2 separate regions of the Homo sapiens genome follow, and region 2 is linked to region 1. Evidence: promoter capture Hi-C in human tissues and cell types (Jung and others, 2019). All regions are on one chromosome and are shown on one strand. Each heading gives the region's core, a stretch centred on a gene start or on the middle of the fragment in contact. The rest is flanking DNA. Distances are from core to core; before and after follow the strand shown. Region 1 holds the start of SEC63 (SEC63 protein translocation regulator). Region 2 has its middle 73 kb from the start of CD164.

Region 1 (7,106 bases), core at 3,829-6,328:
TTAATTCATAAAGGAATGACCTGAGTTTGTTGATGTATCTCTGACAACTGGCTTTAGTGCAAAAAATTCTCAGCTTTATAATCACAAAAGCAGGGATAGAAAAAGAACAATAGGTTGGGTACAGTGCTTGTGCCTGCAATCCCAGCAAATTGGGAGGCCAAGGCAGGAGGATGGCTTGAGTACAAGAATTCAAGACCAGCGTGGGCAACACAGCGAGGCACTCTACCAAAAAACCCCACAACAAACAACAAACAAAACAAACAAAAACCCCACAAAATTAACAAGTCCAACATACTCATAAAAAGAAAGAAGTCAAAATACAAACCTGCTTCCAATACCAAAGGAAAACCACAGCCCTCAATTCCTCTTTTAGGATTGTTTTCATGGTTGACCTTAAACTAGTTTTGCTGTTTTTCCAACTCATACCTCTCTTTACATTCTCTCCAGATAGGAGATTGTGGTTTTGTTGGGTCTGAAGGGCCTTAGTGGGTCAGGAAATAAAAGGATTGCAATGATTTAATACCTTTTACCTAGTCAAAGTTCCAACATAGGGTCATGATTTGAAATTTCAATTGGAATAATGTTTTGGAAGATTTTTGTAAATCATAAGTGTTGTACAAACATTACTTTGTTGATGTTACTGTTGTCATAAGCAGGATTGGTTACTTTGTATCAGAAGAGATTTAGCCTCTTAATGAAAAAAATCTCTGGTATAACATTAAAGATAACATTAAAACTCGGGTTTAACATTAAAGATAATTTTCTAGGCTTTGGCAGTAAAGGTTATGTTCTACTGTAGCATGGGGGAAAGGGAAGAAGACTGGAAGTAACTGTGTGCCCTTATTTAATCATAATTTGGTTCCTTCCAGTTTCTTTGCAGCTAACTCCACAAGTAGATAATTAAATAATGTTGATTATGGCTACAGAAATATACTTTGGTATGTATAAATTTAAGTCAAAAATGTAGTATAAGGATAACTGGCTAGGAGTGATGGCTCGTGCCTGTAATCCAAGCACTTTGGGAGGCTGAGGCGGATGGATCACTTGAGGTCAGGAGTTCGAGACCAGCCTGGCCAGCATGGTGAAACCCTTTCTCTGCTAAAAATACAAAAAACTAGCTGGGCGTGGTAGCAGGCACCTGTAATCCCAGCAACTTGGGAGGCTGAGGCAGGAGAATTGCTTGAACCCGGGAGGTGGAGGTTGCAGTGAGCCAAGATCGTGCCATTGCACTCCAGCCTGGGCAACAAGAGCAAAACTCCGTCTCAAAAAAAAAAAAAAAAAAAATTAGCCACGTGTGGTGGTGCATGCTTGTAGTCCCAGCTACTTGGGAGGCCGAGGCAGAAGAATTGCTTGAACCGGGGAGGCGAGGTTGCAGTGAGCCAAGATTGCGCCACTGCACTCCAGCCTGGGCTACAGAGGGATACTCTGTCTAAAAAAAAAAGGATGACTTACAAAGAAGGAAAGATTCACTCTAAGGAAAAAGCAAAGTATGAAAAGGAACCCCAAAATAGTCAGGCTTTCTACAGGGAAAATGTCTATCTAGCAATTAAAACAAAATTGATTAAAATATTCAATTACAGACATAAATACTAAAATGCCCAATGCCTTTTTTTTTTTTTTTTTTTTTGAGACATGGTCTTGCTGTGTCACCCAGGCTGGAGTGCAATGGCACGATCTTAGCTCACTGCAACCTTCACCTCCTGGGTTCAAGTGATTCTCCTGTCTCAGCCTTCTGAGTAGCTGGGATTACAGGCGCCTGCCACCACACCCAGCTAATTTTTGTATTTTTAGTAGAGACCGGGTTTCACCATGTTGGTCAGGCTGGTCTTTTACTCCTGGCCTCAAGTGATCTGCCTGCCTTGGCTTCCCAAAGTCCTGGGATTACAGGCCTAAATGCCTTTTAATATATGCTGTTAGACTAAAGACAAGTTTTGTCTGTAGCTTTGCTTCTTCCATATTTTTCTTTTTTTTGAGATGGAGTCTTGCTCTGTTGGCCAGGCTAGAGTGCAGTGGCATGATCTCGGCTCATTGCAACCTCTGCCTCCTGGGTTCAAGTGATTCTCCTGCCTCAGCCTCCCGAGTAGCTAGGCTTACAGGCACCACCACCATGCCCGGCTAATTTTTGTATTTTTAGTAGAGATAGGGTTTCACCATGTTGGCCAGGTTGGTCTTCAATGTGATCCATGGCACCCAGCCATATTAATTTACTTTTATTAAATATCTCACTAAAATAATTTCTTGAAACAATTTTATTAGGTTAAAAATATCTGCTGGGCATGGTGGCTAATGCCTGTAATCCCAGCACTTTGGGAGGCTGAGGTGGGCGGATCACCTGAGGTCAGGAGTTCGAGACCAGCCTGGCCAACTTGGTGAAACCCTGTCTCTACTAAAAATGCAAAACTTAGCCGGGTGTGGTGGTGCACGCCTGTAGTCCCAGCTACTCGGGAGGCTGAGGCATGAGAATCACTTGAACCTGGAGGCAGAGGCTGCAGTGAGCCAAGAATGCACCACTGCACTGCAGCCTGGGCAACAGAATGAGACCCTGTCTCAAAAAAAAAAAAAAAAGTGAATCAGAAATTGCGATTAAATTAATTAAAGGTATGATTAAGATTTGCTTTGGAGAATATTTGGGTGGTCTGAGGTTATCTATGTTCAGTAATATTAAGTTCTAGGATAAATTATATGTATACTTTTGAAAATAGAGGATACATTTTCAAATCTTGAACATGCTTTGGTTAAAAAAATAACATTTTAGATTGATCTGGGGTTTTTTCAAATTGCTATTTCAATTTGGTTCAAGCCACTTTTAGGCATGACCCCAAAGCTGCAGTGAAAATATTATTCCTGCAGAAAGAAAGAAGGGGAGTATTTATCATCAATAACTTATATTGCTACAAGGTTACAAAACTGATGTATTATCTTTAAACAAATGCCCAGCAAAACATAATAGGAGTAATAAAAAAACAGTTCAACATTATTAAAACCGAGGAAGACTTAATAACATATTCAACAAACAAAAGGAACTTCATGATCCTGCTCACTTCAGCTGCAACAAGTCTGTGACTAATTTTCTGTAGCAAGGCAAATTGTTCACTCTGGGTATATCAGCGTTGGGAGATCACAATGCTATGTTGATTTCATAGTTCAACCTTCCCTTCATTTCTTGGTTTTATTTTTTCACCTATAATATAGTTTTGAACTTTGTGCAGAAAAAAAGTGAGGAGGGAAATGCATAGAAATGAATTTCAGAAATTTCCTTTCAAAGTGAGTAGATAGGAAATTTGAAGGGAAGAGAGAATACATATGAACACAATCTATTATGAAGGAAAGCATTACTGATTAAGATACTAGTTTTGAAGACATGAAATGAAAGACAATGAGCAACCAGATTTTTCCTCCAACAATGGAAGGAATATTATAATGCATTTAGTTAACAGAGTATAAAGTATTAAAATGAGTCCTTGAAATATAGTGTAATATTTGGTATTTGCATATTACACTTTCTCCTTTGAAAAGCATTTTCACAATTAGTCCTTTCAATCTCTGCAACCAGGTGGGCTATCCTTTTAACCCAGAGAGGGGCAATGGACTCTGGGATAGACCCCAGCCACAGCTGCCGCTGGACCGTGGGGTCGTTCAAAGATCTGGGCAGAAGTCCAGTTTCCAGCTCAGCGGACACCAGCCTCTAGGGTCCCACAGCCAGGGGAAGGAGAGGCTCCCGAGAGCGACTGCTCCCGCCACCGTCCATCCCTGAAATGCAGTTTCCTGTTCACAACCCGCAGGGAGAATGCCAGTCACTGTCAGGAAATTTTAAGGTCCTGGGCGATGGAGGGTCAAGGGCACACTGGCTTTGTGGCATCAAAATGATATGGGTTTGAATCCTCAGACATTCTTTTACTGTGAGGGACCTTGGGCAGTCTCTCTGGGCCTCAATTTTCTCATTTGTAGAGCAGACATACTTTGCTTTATTCCATGGGGTTTACTGATGACTAAATGACACAAAACAATAAAGGTCTCAGCCTACCGCCTGAAGCTGGTGGTTATAATTAGCAGCTCTGGAATGGGTAGGGAACCATCTGTAACGGCTTGGGGAAATCTTCATCTGCAAGATGGGCACAGCGTAGATTCAAATCTGTCGCCCAGTGGAGAGCGATCCGGTCTCACTGCAACCTCCGCCTCCCGGGTTCAAGCGATTCTCCTGCCTCAGCCTCCTGAGTAGCTGGGATTACAGGCGCGTGCCACCACAGCCGGCTAGTTTTTGTATTTTTAGTAGAGACGCGGTTTCACCATGTTGGTTAGGCTGGTCTGGAACTCCTGACCTCATGATCCACCCGGTCTCCCAAAGTACTGGGATTACAGGCATGAGCCACTGCGCCCGGCCAGATAGTAAACATTGCTTTGAAAACACAACTGCAACCCACACCTCCCGCAACCCACACCTCCCCATCCCCCAATTTTTTTTTTTTTTGAGATGGAGGCGCGCGCCACCACGTCCGGCTAATTTTTGTATTTTTAGTAGAGAGTGGGTTTCACCATGTTGGTCAGGCTGGTCTCGAACTCCTGATCTCATGATCCGTCCGCCTCGGCCTCTCAAAGTGCTGGGATTACAGGCGTGAGCCACTGTGCCCGGCCTCCCACCCCCTATTCTAAATGACACTTGTTTCCAAAATATGGGGGCTGGAGGAGCAGATCCAGAACCCAAGGAAACGTGATCAACCAGGGCAATTAATCCAGAGGGCAGGACAGGCTGAGCCTCAGCTCTTCTCTGAATATCTGGGACCCCTGCGCAGCCAGGTGAACCGCCCGCGACCGCTGCTCCGGCGGGAAGCCTTCTCTGGGATCCTGTACGCCGACGCCCGGAATCCGGCGTGGTGCGCTGGGAAACTGAGCGGTGGAGGAAGGCGGAGCGGTTAGGGGCGGGACCCTAGGGGAGGGGTTGGGGGAGGGCTTTGACGTTAGGGCGGGGCTAAGGGCGAGACCTCGCCGAGTTCCACCGTTGCGCTCGCCACGTCTCCCTTAGCGAGCTCGCTGGGGACACGCAGGGGGAGGGAAAACTGAGCGGGGCGGGAACTATCTCCTCTCGCGAGAGCTGGCGACGGCGGCGGCAGCGGCAGAGGTGGCGGCGGCGTGTCCGTGAGAGTGGCGTGGGGGCGGGGAGGAGAGGCGGCGGCGGCAGTGTCCAAGCTACGCCACTCGGGCCGGGGCGTTGGGAGCGGGAGTGCAGAGCGTGGTCGTGGCGGCGGCGGTGAGAAGAGCGAGGCGGAGGAGGGGGTGCCATGGCCGGGCAGCAGTTCCAGTACGATGACAGTGGGAACACCTTCTTCTACTTCCTCACCTCCTTCGTGGGGCTCATCGTGATCCCGGCGACATACTACCTCTGGCCCCGAGATCAGAATGCCGGTGAGTCCCGCCGGCCTTTGCCCGCGAACCCGCGCAGGCCCCGCCAGCGCCCCCAGGCCCTGCGGCGCCCGCTTGCCCGGCCCCAGCCCGCGGCGTCCGGGATGACAGGGACGGTGCGGCCCGGCCTGTGTCCAGCGTCCGCCACTGGCGGGGCCCGGGTCAGCAGCGTTTCCCTCGGCGCTTCTCCACCTCCCTTCATTGTCCTCAGGAGTTTCGCTCGCTCCATCTTCTCCATTGTTGTGGACGCTCCTTGCAGCCTCCTCCTGCCTCTTTGTCTTCTCTGCCTTTGCTTTTATTGGGGATTTTTCTTTATGGAGGAAGCGGGATGGGGACTTGGGAGGTGAGCAAAGAGTTGGCCAAGAAGAGACTGAACGTGCGGGCACAACTCTCAGTCCGTCCAGTTCGCGGCCCTCATCCCCCGACTCCGGTTTCCCTGTTGCAGCTGCTCTTAACAGATGTTTTAGGGCATCTCTGAGCCGGGTGGCATGCTTAGGACTCCAATTGAGCTTTCCACCGCCTACCCCCGTCACTTCCTCCCGTTGCTTTTTCATTTGTTCACTCACTGTGGGGGTTGGAAGCAATGCCGTTATTCCTCTTAGCAAAAATAGGCTTTTTTCTATTTCCTTTTCTTCGGAGTTTCCTGTTTGTGACGGAAAAAGTGCAAGTATGAAGGATTAAGTCTCGTTTAATTAATCTTGTAGGGAATTTTGAGGTAGTGGGTCGATTTACTTTTGGTTCTAAGTCTTTTCACATTAAACAACATCGAATTAAAGCACAGAATAACAGATTCTTTTCATATTTCACTTGATGTTTGGGTAATGTTTGCATCCATTTGTTGCACTCTACTAGGACATATGGCAGATGGTATTCTTAAAGCTGATGTAACTGCGAGGGCCTAATGGGTTATTTATGGTAGTGTTAACAGTAAGGAGTGGGTTTTGAGTATTAACAACTTAGGGAAAGCTTTCTATTGCACAAGAGCTGTGCTAACTTGCTTAAATATCTTCTCTTCAATTGGGTGTGCTGGAGGTCTAGGTTGTCCAGGTTATATACTCTACTTGGAGAAGTTGTTAACAGTGAAGCCTTGAATCAGCTCAGAACTTGTTATACTTTCAGATGGATTCAGTGTCCTGTAACATTCTTTTTCCCCCCCGCCCCATGTGATCTGCAGGAAACTAACATTCTTGACTTGGAATAGAACTAAAATAAATTTAGGATAAATAGTAACAAAGGATTGCATCATTTTGTACGTTTGACAATAAGTTTAAAAATCCATTAGATGCAAAAATCTGTCCAAAGTTACTAGTCTTAATACTTTTTTTACTCAATGGGTAGTTTATGAAATTTGGATCTTGGACTGTTGTGCCTTATTTCCTAAGTGCATTTAAATTGTGTAGGTTCTTCCTCGATGTTGAAAAAGGAAAAAAAATTGGGTAGGTTCTTTGGGCAGTGATTGTGTATAAGTGAAGTCTTAATGCTGTAATGGCTTTTCTTATCTGCAAACCTAGGCCATTCTTGTGGTTGTTGTATTTCAAGTTAAAAGGGTACACTTTTCAGTAGTTTATTTTCACCTAACAGCCATTATGTGTGCAATTGGTAGTGTAGAAAACAAAAAGGTATTGGGAGAGTAGTCGGTGGGTTTGGCCAGAATGTGTTTTGATCAGGCAGAACAAAGGTATAAAAAAAAGTGTTTTGAGAAACTGCCC
Region 2 (7,392 bases), core at 82-2,581, 1.4 Mb before region 1:
AGGAAAAGCCTGCCTGCCAGGAAGAGTATTGGTCAAATTGTCCAAGGAAGAATTGATAAGCAAGAACCAGGGGAGAGCGAGTTCCTGTAGACTGCTGGTAACTCCTCAGTCTTGTAGCCTGCCTCCCCAACAATCAGCTAGTGCATGGATTTCCAGATTTTATTTTATCCTCAGAGCTCTTTCATCAAATGAATTCTTACACACTGGCCCAAATATTCAACAGACCAAGGCCAAGCATGGTGACATGAAGGGGACAGCCTGGAGGCCATGTAATTGCCGCCCCCGCTCCCCAGCTCAAGAAGCCCCAGGGTATCTCTGAGGAACCCCAGGGCTCCTTGGACCACAATTTTAAAAGCCTTGAGCCAATTCATCACCTTTACTTTGGAGCTTTGGAGACTGAGGCCTAGTGAGATCAAAAAACTTATAGCATAACTGGGGCAGGAACTCAGGAGTCCTGACTCTCAGGGCAGTATAAATTCTACTGCTTCCTATTGTCTATGAATAGCTAAATACTCCTAAATAAAAACACACGAAATAAAATTAATTAAAATAAATAATAATTTTAAAGCAAACTTGTTTGTTAATATGTTCATATGATGAGAAGTCTTTTCTACCAACGTGCTTTAATTTAATAGACAAGAGAAGGAACAGGAGCCAAAATAAATAACAAGGTGGAGGATGGTGGGGAATGTCAGGAAAAGATGGTAATCCATCATAGACAGGGCCAAAATATGGCAAACAGAAGGACCTGAGGGCCCAGCATGTGTTTGGATCCTGGCACAATTTGGTCTATACCCAGCTTTGCAAATGATCACACTGGGTGAAGATCTAATTATGCTGTGGAATGTAGATGGCACATATAAAACCACTTCTTTTTCTACTAATTGGCCCCAAGTGGACTTGTGACTCAGTTTAGCTAAAAAGACACAAGGAAAATCTAATGGGGGGGCTTCTAGAAAATATTCCCCTCCTTGATAAAAAGCTAGATCTCCAAGGAGAAAGCTTTTTTGCTCCTGTTTTTATCTTACAAACATGAGGGAGATGTTTCCCAATACACCTAAATGGCAGAGCCTGAGTCCTTGAAGTCACTGTCAAGGGGCTACACCAACCTGAACTGCCTCCTTCTAGACGTCTTATTATGGAGGATTAATATGCTTCCCTAATTTAGGTTATAGCTAATGGAACAACCTGTTACTTGCACCAGAAGCACTCTAACTGGCACAGAGAAGCAACAGGGTAAGCGTGGATGATCAGAAGAAGCTTCCTAAAGAGAGTGGTTTGGAAGTGGAAATCTGAAGGATAAGTAAGAGTTAATCAGGTGATGAAGCAGAAAGAGGAAGGAGAGGGAAGTTTTCCACTAGAGTGACCAGTTTGGGAGAAGTACAGAAGAGAGCATGGTGCATTTGACAAATCGAAAGACATTGAGGGTAGAAATATTGGCAGGAGTCAAGTCACGAGGGGCTGATGAAAGCATTTGGACTCTTCTCAGGGCATCTGGAATCCATTGAAGAGTTATAGTAAAGGAAGTGATATAATCAGGCTTGCATTTAAAAATATTACCCTGGTGAATGGATTGGAAGGAGGTGAGAATAAGTGTATTGAATCCAATTGGAGGTCAAGATCATAGCCTAGTTAGTGATCAGGGATGATGATGGTTTGGACTCATAGAAGTGGGTACTGTGGGGGAACAGAGAAAGAAGACAAACTTGAAAGATATTAAAATAATTGATAGTAAAACTTGGTGACTGGTTGTGGGGTGTGGGACAGAAGTCAAAGATGGTGCCCAGAGTTTTTGGCTTGGCCAACTGGGCAGGTAGTGGTAAACGGACAGGGAAGGGCAAGATTTAGGGAGTAAGATGACCTTAGCTTGAGAAACGCTGTCTCTGAGATGGAATAAGTGGAGATATCCAGCAGGCAATTGAACATGTGAGTCTGATAGGATTGATATTTGGGCTAGACATACAGATTTGGATCATTGCATGTGAATGTCATCAAAGTTATAAAAGTGGATGGGTTTTCCTAGGGAGAGGGTGAGGAATGGAGCAACCTAGTAGAGAAGAGGATGAGGGAGCTCTAGGGCCAGACCGTTGGGTTGGAATCTGAGCTTCTTTCCTCATTAACCATGTGACTTTGGCCATGTTACTTAACCTTTTTAAGCCTTAGTATTCTTATCTATAAAATGAGAACAATGAAACAACCTATCTCATGGAATTATTGTGAGGACTAAATAAATGAATACATAAAAAGCAATCTGAACAGACCTCAACTTCTAGGCAATAATAGCAGTGGTATTGATAGTATTCAGGGCTGACTTAACAGCTTGGGCAGAGGAGGCACAGTGCCTCGGGCCCACAAAATGCTTTATTTTTTTTTAATCAGAAAAAAAGACCTTTTAGGCTAAATAAAATGCTTTAATATATGATATTAATATATTTTTCTTTGTACTAGCACAATGTTAAAATATAATTTTTAATGGTTTTTCATGGAGGAGGGAAGAGCCCACAAAGGTAAAAGTGTTAGGGACTGCGGAAGTCAAAATGTGGCCCTGGTAGCAGTGGTGGGATAGATTATAAAAAAATTTTAGGGTTGGCAGAGGTAGAGGACCCTACAGAAGGGTCTGAGAAGAGGGGCTCAGCAATGTTGGAGGAAAGCTAGGAGAGACTCATGCTGTAGAAGCCAAGGGCAGAGAGGCTTTGAGAAGGACTCTGTGTCAAATGCTGCCAAGGGGTTAGGTAGAAAGGTGACTGAAAGTACCCAGAGGATTTAGTGACAAAGACCATCTCTTGATGAGAGAGGTTTCAGTAGCAAGATTGGGAAGACAGACTGCAGTGCTTCGAGGAGTGGCAGGAAGGTAAGAAAATGGAGATGATGGGTTTAGGCATTGCTCAGAAAGTTTGGCTCGGACAGAAAAGCTCTTCAAGTGCGGGCACCAGCTAGTTTGTCTAGCATCCAAACATGTCTCTGCCTAGTTCCTGGATATATGCAAAATTGTTTAAAGTCATGACACTAGGAGCGCTAGTGGCCCTTGCACCTTAGAGCTTCAGAATGATAAACCCAGAGGAGGCAGTGCCTGCCCAGGAGACCATAGGCCAGTAGTTGAGTGATGAGGACAAGAGCCCAGGCCTGAGATGTCCACCTGGGGCTTCTATCAGACCCCTCTGGCCCTTCCAACTCCAGTCCTAGATGTATGACTCACAAAGAAAGCATCCAGTTGGCGCTTTTGTTTCATTTGGTTTCAATAGACCTCCCACAACTTTTGGCGTATTTTTAAAATTAAAATAGATGTATATACCATAATCATGGAACTTAGAAAATGCTTTGCAGTGGCTACCCCTGCTCCACTGTTGCTCCCAGGTGGTGTTGGCACAGTCCTGGGACCTACTGAGAGAGGCTGTGGGAAAACATGACTCCCCGGACCATCTCCCCAACAGAGAGGTCCTTCAGTTCAATATAGTACTATCAATATGGAAACGATACCCCCAGAATACCTGTGTATTTTTGCCCAGTGTGGCTTGCTGTCTTTGGGGGGCCTCCATGGTCACATGATAGCTACTCAGAACATCTTCCAGTAGCAGTTGCACACCCACCAGTTCTCCATGAGCCACCTTGCGGTCACGGTCACTCAGCCCACAGAGGCACAGCTAAAAAAAAACAAAAAAACCTTCCATTTGAAGACCATATATATATTTTACATATGGTTTTCAGGAAGAAAACTAGGAGTAACTGTATTTACAAGAACCCATTCCCTCAACTGCTAGAAAATTCATAAAAACCAGAGTAACATTTCTAACTTAAAGTTTTCTTTGAGCACATCAAATTTTGGCTCTGTATGAAAATGCCAAGTTTCCAGCCCTTACAGCAGATCTGTACATGGTGAATGTATAGTGTGATATCAATTTTCCCTTAAAAGTACAGATATAAACACACATATGCAGAGGGAAAATACCAGGGAAATAAAATGTGAACTGTAATTGTCTCTTAGTTGTGGAACTATGGTTGATTTTTTATTTTATTTTATTTTATTTTATTTTTTAAGAGAGTCTTACACTGTCACCAGGCTGGAGTGCAGTGGTACGATCTCAGCTCACTGCAACCTCCGTCTCCTGGGTTCAGGTGATTCTCATGCCTTAGCCTTCTGAGTAGCTGGGACTACAGGCGTGTGCCACCACACCCAGCTAATTTTTGCATTTTCAGTAGACACAGGCTTTCACCTTGTTGCCCAGGCTGGTCTTGAACTCCTGAGCTCAAGAGATCTGCCCACCTTGGCCTCCCAAAGTGCTGAGATTACAGGCATGAGCCACCACACCCAGCCATATGGTTAATTTTTTAAGACCACTTTTACTATTTTACTTAAAAAACCTGTTCTACTTATGGATAATTTTGAATATATAGAAATCAAACAGAAAAGTTCCCATCACCCAGCCCCAACAACCATTAACCTGTGGCCAGTGCTACCCCATCCCACCCACTCCCCACCTCCATATTGTTTTGAAGCGTTATTTATGGTTGATTTTCATGTTGTTCTTAATACTTTTCTAAGCTTTCTATTTTTTAAATAAAAACAATATTTACTTAAATAATCAGGGGAAAACATTTAATAATGAAAAGAATCAAACTATTTAAAGGAAGTTAACAGCAAAAAAGAAAACAATGAAAAGAAATTCTCCCTACGAGTCCTGCTTTAAAAAGTTCCCTTCCCACAACTGTTTATGGACAGGTCAGGAGTCACACATCTCTGAGCTGCCAGCCTGGGAGTTTCTCTAAGAGGCCCAGCCCATGACTGGAGATGACTGGCCATTCTCCCAGATCACTACTGTTACGAAAACTGCAGCTGAGTCTACAACCCAGGCCCATGCCAGTTGAGAGCATGCTTCCCTTCTATCATAAGAAAATGTGACTCACCTCGTGACCCTGGGTTTACAGCCTCAAAATCAAACACCCTGCTTATCTCACACATTATTCATCGTGGGTGAGAGTAGGAGGATCTGACCTGTGAACCCAATGGCAACCATCTTTGCAGTCTGCGCTCAGTTCTCTCTGCAACAATGGAGAAGACCTATCCTACCTGCATATTATATTCTAGGGTATCTGGGCTGTTACTCATAACTGGGAATGGTCCTCCATCTTCCAGAAATGCTCTCCAAGGAAACAGCTCAAATGCCTAAGAGAACAAAATAATAAAGATGATAATGTTGTACTTTGTGTTCAAAATTAATAGATATCTGTATATGAATAGGATATCTGTGTCTGTACCGCAAAACAATTTTGGATGACTTATTTATTATGTGTAAGTATTTCTTGATAGTTCCTAGAGATATAGAAGAGACAGCAATAATTTATTTTTTAAATTGTTTTCTCAGCAGATGGTGAAACACAGAAGAGTACTTAAGATTTCAGTGTAACTAATCAGCACCAGTGTTCAGAAGTTCCAGAACAGTATAACACCAATGGGACATATTTAAAATCAATAAAAATAAATTTACTCAAATGCTCTCAATATCAGGAACCTTAAAAAGTTGTCCTTCATCATTATTGTGCTCCAATTCTCGGTAACAACTCAAGACCAGCACCACAAATTATTACATGTGAGTCTCTGGCTCCTCCATATCACTAACCAACAGCTAAGGCATCCTCTGTCCTTTGTGACACCATCTGCAGCCCTGGAACCAGTGGGCCTGCCTATCTGACTCCATTCTACACTTCCAGACCTGGTTCTGGTTTTAGTCAAGTCCTGGAGTTGGAGTTGATTCTGACAGCAAGGAGCCGGGACTCCTATATCCACCTAATCCCAGGCAACACCCAAAGGAAGCAAGAGCAGATCCAATGGTCACGGTCCGACCCTGTCTTCTGGGTCTAAATGAGGGCCATGGCTTGGGCCAAAAGTCACTGTCTTGCAGCCACTGAAGGTAGAAATGTGGGACTTGCTTGAGGTTGATGTTGGTGTCCCTTGGCTTAGCATTATAAAATCAGAATATTAAACTGGAAATTTTGGAGTCAAAAGACCAGGGATTGTGAGGTAGTTTGAAAGAGATATCCACTAGTTCTTTGACACTCCTCCTGTAAAGAGGTGGAGCTTACTTCCCCTCCCCTTGAATGTGTTCTGGACTTAGTGACTCACTTCCAGTGAAAAGAATATGACAGAAGTGATGGAGAGTCTGAAATCTGGTAATAAAAACACTGCGACTTCCATCTTGGGTTCTCTCTTGGACTGTTTGTGTTGGGGGAAGCCATCGGCTGTGTTGCAAAGAAGCTCTGTGCAGAAGCCCATGTGAATAAGCCTGGAAGTGGATCTTCTGGTGCCCACCAGCAGCCATAGGAGTGAGCTTGGAGGCAGGTTGTCCTCCAGTTGAGCCTTGAGATGATTACAGCCCTGGCCAACATCTTGACTCATGAGAGACCCTGAGCCAGAACTACCCACCTGAGCTGCTCCCAGATTCCTGATCCTCAGAAACTATGTTAGATAATGAATGTCTATTGTTTTAATCTGCCAAACTTTAGGGTAAATCATTGTGCAGCAATAAGTAACTAATACAGCTTGCAACCTGGTGCTGCCATGATTCTGGAATAGTCTGATCTCTGGCCTTCCTGAATCTTGAACTCTTTGGTTGTAGAAGGTGGGTAATATTGTTCCTGCCTAGGAGCAACAATAGTTGCCAGGATTACCTTCAATAACAGGTGTTATAACCAGGGCTATTGAAAACCCAGCTACTGACGTCATTTATGTATTGCAATTGCTATCATGACGATTTATTAAGTGGAGAAGATTGTTTGTTTTGCTATCAACTGTGAACAGACAAGCTGTTGCCACGATCAGCCTGTTGAGTGTTTGGAGACAAAGACCCTGACTGGGAATCACAGCCGGCCCTGGGGCCCAGACTCTTCCACTGTGCAAGTGAAGCAGAGCCAGTGAAGACAGAGGGCATTAAAGTCTTGAAAGCCCCTGCAGAATCTAAACTAAATGGAAACAAACTGACTAGATTCCCTACACACTGCACACCATTTACAGTATAAAAATACATCTGAAACACACCTGGAGGCTCCGTGGATCCAGTGGCTGGGGCAGGCTGAGCTGTGAGGCAAAAATGCTCTTCCTGAGAGAGTTGCTCAGTGCTGGTAGCCCATGGCACATGCCGTCTGTGACAGACTGGTAGGCAGGAACATTTCCAGCTGCCAAAAATGTTCTTCTACCAAAACATGGGGGGGCATTTCATTAAAAGCAGTTACTTACACTTCTAAAGTTCAAAACTTTCCTCAAAGTTAGAGAAGCAAGAAAACATTTTGATATATTAACAGGTTCCTTCTTCAGCCACATCAACCCCCATGCCCCTTGCCCTCGACTTTCACAGTTCGTAGCCCTCACGGGGAGGGTTGGCATACTCTCGACTAGCAATG

What was found. The method cuts DNA at HindIII sites, captures the fragments that hold promoters and counts their contacts. A contact is called where the count stands out against the background at its distance.
Region 2: a contact is called between a fragment that was not itself captured here and the fragment with the promoter of SEC63 in region 1, in 1 of the 25 tissues and cell types used here (hippocampus).

What each region holds. Positions count from the first base shown.
Region 1 is chr6:107,956,180-107,963,285 of GRCh38, reverse strand. SEC63 (SEC63 protein translocation regulator) reads left to right here and starts at 5,078. Exons shown (of 21, transcript NM_007214.5): 1 at 5,078-5,400. The coding sequence starts at 5,277. RefSeq lists enhancers at 3,835-4,435, 5,038-5,639 and a silencer at 4,876-5,415. The HindIII fragment of the contact is 11,998 bases long and covers 1-7,106 here.
Region 2 is chr6:109,305,751-109,313,142 of GRCh38, reverse strand. It overlaps the pseudogene CCDC162P. Among named protein-coding and RNA genes, the nearest start is that of CD164, 73 kb to the left of the region's middle. The HindIII fragment of the contact is 3,139 bases long and covers 1-2,900 here.